Regions from separate parts of the Homo sapiens genome. Here region 1 is linked to region 2. Evidence: promoter capture Hi-C in 16 types of primary human blood cells and fetal thymus (Javierre and others, 2016). All regions are on one chromosome and are shown on one strand. Each heading gives the region's core, a stretch centred on a gene start or on the middle of the fragment in contact. The rest is flanking DNA. Distances are from core to core; before and after follow the strand shown.

Region 1 (3,518 bases), core at 574-3,073, 180 kb after region 2:
ACTTCTGTTTCAACTATTTGCTATATCAACTACTCAAAGAAGAAAGTGGTTACATTTTATTTGTAGCCTTTAGACAAAAGCCACATGCATCGACTCATTTCAGATGGCCAGAATGTCCACCGTGGGGTAGCTCACTTATTCTCTCTTCTGGCAAGATCAGAGCTCGCTACACCCCTTTGCTTATGAACTATGGACTGAAGACTTAAACTGTGGGAAAGAACACTTAGGCAAGTTAGCTACAGATACCAAGGGGAAAGAATTTCTTCGTTTTATTCATTTTTTTCTAGATTTTTCTCTGGCATGAAAAAATGCATTGTGGAGAATGCTTCCACCCCTTGGAAGTGGTAAAAGCGGGTGATAATGCTGGGAATGAGGGTAGAGAAGAATACTTAGCTCAAATTAATCACCAGGTATTTCTAATAATAATACCAAAGCAAACTAGAACATAACGCTTAGTGAAATCAATGCTCTATCTGTTTTGGATGAGTGGAAAATAGATACTCACACCAAGAGATTATTCCTACATGAATACAAAACTCTCACTAGGCAAAATACAAAGCAGGTAGACCTTGGAAATATAGAAAGTTTATAAAAATTGTGATGCTTAAAAAAACCTACAGAAATGTGAACATGTATACTTTTTATAAAAAACAGTGAAAATCAGAGAAGTTTCATGTGGGATAGACAGCTCTACTATTTTAGGCTTGGGTACTTTAGAGTACAAATCAGTAAAACTAGCTAGCACAGTATTGTCTCATAAGTTGAAACTTTTCTCCATCAGGTCAAGTAAGACATACAGGTCTGGCTACTAGTAATAGAAGAATACATGTTATCAAACTAAGCCCCCAACAGATATCAACTGTAAACTCCAGAATTAATATAAAGACAGCTATCTAAAACCACGGAGAACAACCAAAAGCAAGCCAACACTGGAGGAGAGCGCACTCTTGGAGGAAAGGAATTTCCCTGTAAGTTTCCAATTTCAAGGAATTTTGCCGAAAGGCATCCTCAGTAGTGGCTGAAAAGTGGGAGGAAATTCCCACACTGTAGCCAATCAGACACGGGAAGCCTGAATGAAATTCTGTGTATAAGTTCTGCTGAAATCCTTTGGTTGACCTCTAAACTGCCCATCATGTAGGCCAGACTCAAAGTAACCCAACCAATATGAAAAGAAAAGAACTGAATAGAGCGTAGGCTGCTTCCCACAGCACACGAGGCAGCCTGGAGTTTGAATCCAGCTAAGTTAACTGCTTGCCTTAAAAATAAATAAGTAAAAGTATCACTACCCTTTATAGCCATAGCTCTCAATGAGAAAGAGTGAGTAAAGATGCATGATTTTGGCCCCAACACCATAAAAAAGAGCGCTTAGAAAGGACTGAAGGCATTTTTTGGCAGGGGATGTGGGGAGGAGAGAGAGTTATGCTACTGGTAAGTAGTGAGTGGAGACAAAGGATAATACTCAGTACCCCACAATGCATATAGAACAGTACCCTCCCAAAATACACACAACAACACAAACAAAATGACCCAGTTCAAAATGTCAGTAGTGCTGAAGCTGAGAAATATTGTTTTAGAAGAATAAAATAGAATTCAGAGTTTCTACAGTATATTCAAAGTTCAAGTTACAATCCAAAATTACTTGACATACAAAGAATGAAAACTATAATCCATACTTAAGACAAAGGGCAATAAAGCTACCCTGGAAGCAGTCCTGATGTTAAAATTCTGAAAAAGCATATAATTATGCTGAAGACATAAAGAAAAATGTGCTTATACTAAATGAATAGGATAGCACATCAAATACAACATAATATTAAAAATAAAGAACTGGTTGGCGCGGGCATGAGGCCGAGGCAGGAAGACTGCTTGAGTCTGGGAGTTCAAGACCAGCTTGGGCAACACAACGACCCCATCTCTACAAAAATAAAAAATTAGCTGAGCGTGGTGGCATGCACCTGTAGTTCTAGCTACTTAGGAGTGGGTAGGTTAAGGTGAGAGGATCACTTGAGACCAGGAGGTCAAGGCTGCGGTGAACCATGACACTGCACTCCACCCTGTGTGACAGAGAAAGATTCTGTCTCAAAAACAAACAAAAAGCAGAAAATATCTGGAACTAAAAAATAAAATAAATTAAAAAGAAAATTCACAGGATAGGCTTAAGAGCAGATTGGGAAAAAATAGAATAAACAGTGAGTGAACATGGATGGAAACAAATTATTAGGTTGTTCAAAGTGAAAAACACCAAAAATAAGATTTAAAAAGAATGTCAGGTATCCATAGAAAAATATTAATAGGTCTAATACATATGTAAAAATTGGAGTCCCAGGGGGAAGAGACTGAAAAGTTATATTTTAAATGGCTGAAATCCCCCCAAATTTAACATAAAGCACAACATTTACAGATTCAAGAAGTTCAAACAACCAAACAATATAAATAAAAACACACTGAGTCACATCATAACCAAAACTGACTCAATACTTAGGTAAAAATATCTTAGTAGGTAGGAGTCAGAGAAAAATGAAAAATGGCACATTTAAAGAAAAAGAATTACACAAAAATAAAGACTTAAGTATCAACGGAGTCCAGAAAACAGTGGATTATCTTTGAAGTGCTTAAAGAAAGCCATTAATTCTATATTTAGTAACAATATATTTCAATGAAGAAGACTTCAAAAAAAGACACAGTTGAATAAAAAGTAAACTAATCACCATATACTAAAAGAAAAATTATCATCAGTAGGTCTGCTATACCAGAAGTGCTAAAGAAAGTTCTTCAGGCAGATGGAAAGAAACTTGGATCTTCGGGAAAGAATTAAGATCACTGAAGTTGGTTCATATTTATGTAAATATAGGTGATTTGAAAAAAAGCAGCATTAGAGTGAAGGTAAAATTCTGACTGAGAAGCCAGATTCAAACCTAGCCATTCAGATTGCTCAAGCAGTGTCAAAAGTAGCAGCTACTGGCATAGCAACTAGCCCTTTACTCCCATTGGTAACAACTCATTTCCCTTGCATTCCCAATAAACCTGAAGATGGACTCAAAATACCATCACTACACTTCCTTCTCTGCAGGGGTTAAGAAGAGTTAGCAAAGAGGGAGCCATGGCAAAGCGACATTCACATAGAACAGACATATGAAAGCCCCAGAGAGAAAACATTTTCTAATTTCCCAAATTCAGACATTTTTATGGTCCTTTCCTATCATTATTTTAAAATAAATCACTATATTCTTAAAGAGTTAATACCTACACCTCTACACCTTATTAAGAAATCACTACATTTTATGTTCTCTTTTCAACATCATCAAACATGGCAGATTCCCAAATTATCCAAATATAGCAACAGGATATAGTAATAATATATGACAAATAATACATAGAATATAACATACTAATATATGTTACATATTATATCAAAAAGAATATTGCATGACTATCAGAATATCACATTCTCCATTATTTCCATATTCTCTCTCATTCATGACCTCGCTGTCACTCATTCCATCACAAATTTTATTCAA
Region 2 (3,701 bases), core at 1,055-3,554:
CCTGCCTGGGCAGAAGCACTCACTGAAAGACACAAGGGGAGAACAGGGGCTCAGGGAGGAGCCACCAACGTTCCCTGGCCCAGGGAACCAGAGTGCCAACAGAAAGCCCACAGAGGGAGCCTGGACTGCCTCATGGAGGAGCACAGAGACAGGTTGAGCCACCTCCAGGTGCCCTTCAGGGCCTTGAAGTCTCCAGCCTAAAATATAAGGGCCCTGCCAGGGACTTCGGGATCCTACTGTCCCCTTCCAAAATTCTCAACTAGGCTGGGCCTCAGCGTAATCCTATTGAGCATGATTTTTAAGTCACCACCTCTCTTCAGAACAATATAAGGTTCTCGACACTGACTGAACCCAAGGCACCTTCCCTCCCTGCACATGCATCCAGCAGGACCATGATATACTCACCACAGCTCAGTGCAGGAGGCCAGGATGCCAGGAAAGGCCTGAGCTTCAGTGCACCAGGGGCTGGGAAACTGGCTGACAGACACTGGCCCAGGGCCATTGGGCCCAATGCAAATCTTCCTCCAGGCTCACCATCTGGGGGGACAGGAGGAGGATATGTGTCCAAATAGGGCCTCACATCTCCATGTGGAGAAGGGATCCCCTGTAATGGGTTCTATGTGGAACAGACCCATCACAGATGCAGGGCACCCTTGGCCCTCCCCATCACCAAACCCTGAGAAACAAGGCAGGCTGGTCATTGGGTTTGGGCCAGATACCTGGGCTGAGCCATACTTCCGTTCCGGAGAGCACCTCCACTGCCCTCACCAGCTCCCCTGCATGATCCCAGGGTTGCCCTGTGACCACTGGGCATGGGCCATGGCCACCAACCCGCTCCCAGCCAACCAAGGAGGGTAGCCTGGAAGCTATGCACCGTTGCAGACCTGGCAGTCACATAGCCTGCCTCTGGGCGTGGTGGGCACCCACTGAGGAGCCCTCCCCAAGTGTGCACTAAAAATCACAGCCTGGGGACCTGGGCCATGAGCTTTCACTGGTGGGACCCCATTCATATCCCACACCTCTCAAACACAGAGCTGGGCCACACTCGGCCAATCAAGGGCCACATGGTATCTTCTCGTTTCCTTGGGCCCAAGATCCCGAGACCCTGGAGGTGACCCCTTGGCTAAGAAGGCGGGGTGGCAAATTCCCGGTACAACACCCTAGACAGTGGACCTTCCCACCTCAGAATGCCACTGTTACTGCCACTCAAACATGGAGAACAGGTGACCCCCATGGGACATGGGATGCCCCCTTAGCCCAAAGCCCATGGGTCACAGGACTGGCCTGAAGCACCACCAGGAGCTGGCCAGATCTCAACCTTGACCCAACCCCATTGAAACTGCACCACCCCTGACCAGGCTCAATACGTGCCACTGGGATGGCCCATTGTTCAACAGGATCAGCCCCATTCAGGGTCACAGGTGGGATGAGATCCTTGAACCTCCATGGCCCGACCCCATCACCACCCCCCCCAGGAACATGCCCGGGGACCGAGAGCTCCCAAGTGAAACCCGTGGCACCCTGGAGCCCTTCTGGCCCGCCTCATGTGGCCTGGGCAGTCCTCAAGGCCTGACCTGCACACCAAGTCTCAACTGGGCGATGTCCTGCATGGGGCTGAAGGAACCCTTTGCTATCTGGACCATTGTCATTCCTGCAGATCTTCAGGGAAGGCATCCTCCTCAGGTAAGATTCCCAAGGAAGCCGCCCTCCTGGAGAAACCATCCCTCCCTGATGGGAATTGGGGTCAGCTCCCTGAGGAAACCCTCATGGCCTGAAGTCTGACCCTCAGTGAACCCATGCCCATGATGCCAGCAGGATCCACTCACCTATGTTGGTCAATGCCAGGAGGCCCCCCCTTGGCAGAAGAGCTCACTGAAAGACACAAGGGGAGAACTGGGGCTCAGGGAGGAGCCACCCACGTGCCACTTCACTGGGGAACAGAAAGGCCAACACCAAGCCCGCACAGGGAGCCTGGGCTGCCTCACAGAGGAGTGCAGAGACAGAGTTGGGCCTCCTCCAGATACCTTTCAGGGCCTCCAGGGCTCCAGCCCAAAATACAGTGGCCCTGCCGGAAATCTCGGGATCCCAGCATCCTCCTCCAAATTTCTCACCTAGGTTGGGCCTCAGCGTAATCATTGAGCATGGTAATTTTAAGTCATCACCTCTCTTCAACACAATATAGGGTTCTCATCATTGACCCAACCCAGGGCACCCCCCCTGCCCACACATACATCCAGCGGGACCCGGATGTGCTCACCACAGCTCAGTGCAGGAGATCAAGGGGCCAGGAAGGGCCTGAGCTTCAGTGCACCAGGGGCTGAGCACCTGGCTGACGGACACTTGCCAGGGTCCATTGGTCCTGATGCAAGTCTTCCTTCAGGCTCACCATCTGGATGGACAGGAGGAGGACATGTGTCCAAACAGGGCCTCATACCTCCAGGTGGGGAATGGGGTAAGGGATACCCATGTGATGGGATCCATGTGGAACACTGACCTGTCACGGATACAGGGCACTCTCGGCCCTCCCCATCACCAAACCCTGAAAAAACAGGGCAGGTGGATCACTGGGCTTGGGCAAGACCCCTGGTCTTCATGCTATTGCAGACCTTGAGGGCACATCCAGTGCCCCCTCTGACTTCTCCTTCACACGATCCCAGGGCTGCCCCAGGACCACTGAGCATGGGACAGGGTCACCGACATGCTCATGGCCAACCGAGGAGCCTGGCCCAGAAGCCATGTGCCACCGTGGACATGGAAGTTGCATAGCCTGCCGCTGGGCATGGTGGGCACCTGCCCAGGCACTCTCTCCAAGCCACACCTGAAATCACAGCCTGGAGTACCAGGGCCATGTGCTTTCTCTGGTGGGTCCCCATCCATGCCCCACACATGTCCCAAACACAGATCCGGGCCACCCTTGGCCAATCCTGGGCCACATGGTGTCCTTTCCTTTCCCTAGGCCCAAGACCCTGCCACCCTGGACATGACCCCATGGCACAGAGAGTCTGGGCAGCAAATTCTCAGGATAGGACCATCAACAGCGGGCCTTCCCACCGCACATTCCACTCTTCCAGCCACTCACCCATGGGGAAGGGGTGACCTCCAGCAGGACACAAGCTGTCGACTTGGCCTAAAGCTCACGAGTCCCAGGTCCGGCCCACAGCCTCACCAGGCACTGGCCAGAGCTCAGCCTTGACCCAAACCCAGGGAAACAGCACTGCCCCCCACCAAGCTCAAAGAGGCACCATGGGATGGTCCATAGCTCAACAGGGTCAGTCCCATTTTGGGACATAGTTGGGTACAATCCTTGAATCTCCACGGCCCAATCCCATAGGCTCATTCAAGCACCCCTCTCCAGGGAAAGAGAACTCTTGCATGACCCCCGTGGTGCCCCGGAGGCCCTGTGGCCCCCATCATGTGGCCTCGGCAATCCTCGAGGCCTGACACATGCACTGAGTCTCAGCTGGGAGCTCTCCTGCACGGGGCTGAAGGAAGTCTTTGCTGCCTGGACCACTGTCATCCCTGCAGGGCTTCAGGAAGGCAACATCTTGGGTCCAGTTCCCAAGGAAGCCGCCCTCCTGTAGAAACCATCCCTCCCCGGTGGAAATACAGGTTGGCTCCCTGAGGAAACCCTCCTGTCCTAAAGACTGACCCTTGGTGACCCCACGCGGCCTGACTCATGGCCCATGACACCAGCAGGATGC

Evidence for each region. Contacts are between HindIII fragments. The CHiCAGO score rates a contact against its expected background, and 5 or more counts as called.
Region 1: the fragment with the promoter of PWAR6 here is called in contact with the fragment with the promoter of PWAR4 in region 2 in 5 of 17 cell types (neutrophils, monocytes, non-activated CD4 T cells and 2 more); the score reaches 5.7 in neutrophils.

The regions. Positions count from the first base shown.
Region 1 is chr15:25,030,178-25,033,695 of GRCh38, reverse strand. PWAR6 (Prader Willi/Angelman region RNA 6) reads right to left here and starts at 1,823. Exons shown (of 1, transcript NR_146168.1): 1 at 1-1,823. All of the region lies in intron 23 of SNHG14 (small nucleolar RNA host gene 14), which reads right to left. The HindIII fragment of the contact is 7,287 bases long and covers 1-3,518 here.
Region 2 is chr15:25,210,295-25,213,995 of GRCh38, reverse strand. It overlaps PWAR4 (Prader Willi/Angelman region RNA 4), which reads right to left and starts at 2,304. Exons shown (of 1, transcript NR_022010.1): 1 at 1,963-2,304. SNHG14 (small nucleolar RNA host gene 14) reads right to left here. Exons shown (of 148, transcript NR_146177.1): 102 at 2,258-2,389; 103 at 1,827-1,872; 104 at 406-537; 105 at 1-22. SNORD115-23 (small nucleolar RNA, C/D box 115-23) reads right to left here and starts at 2,200; the gene lies at 2,119-2,200. It overlaps SNORD115-24 (small nucleolar RNA, C/D box 115-24), which reads right to left and starts at 337; the gene lies at 267-337. The HindIII fragment of the contact is 4,906 bases long and covers 1-3,701 here.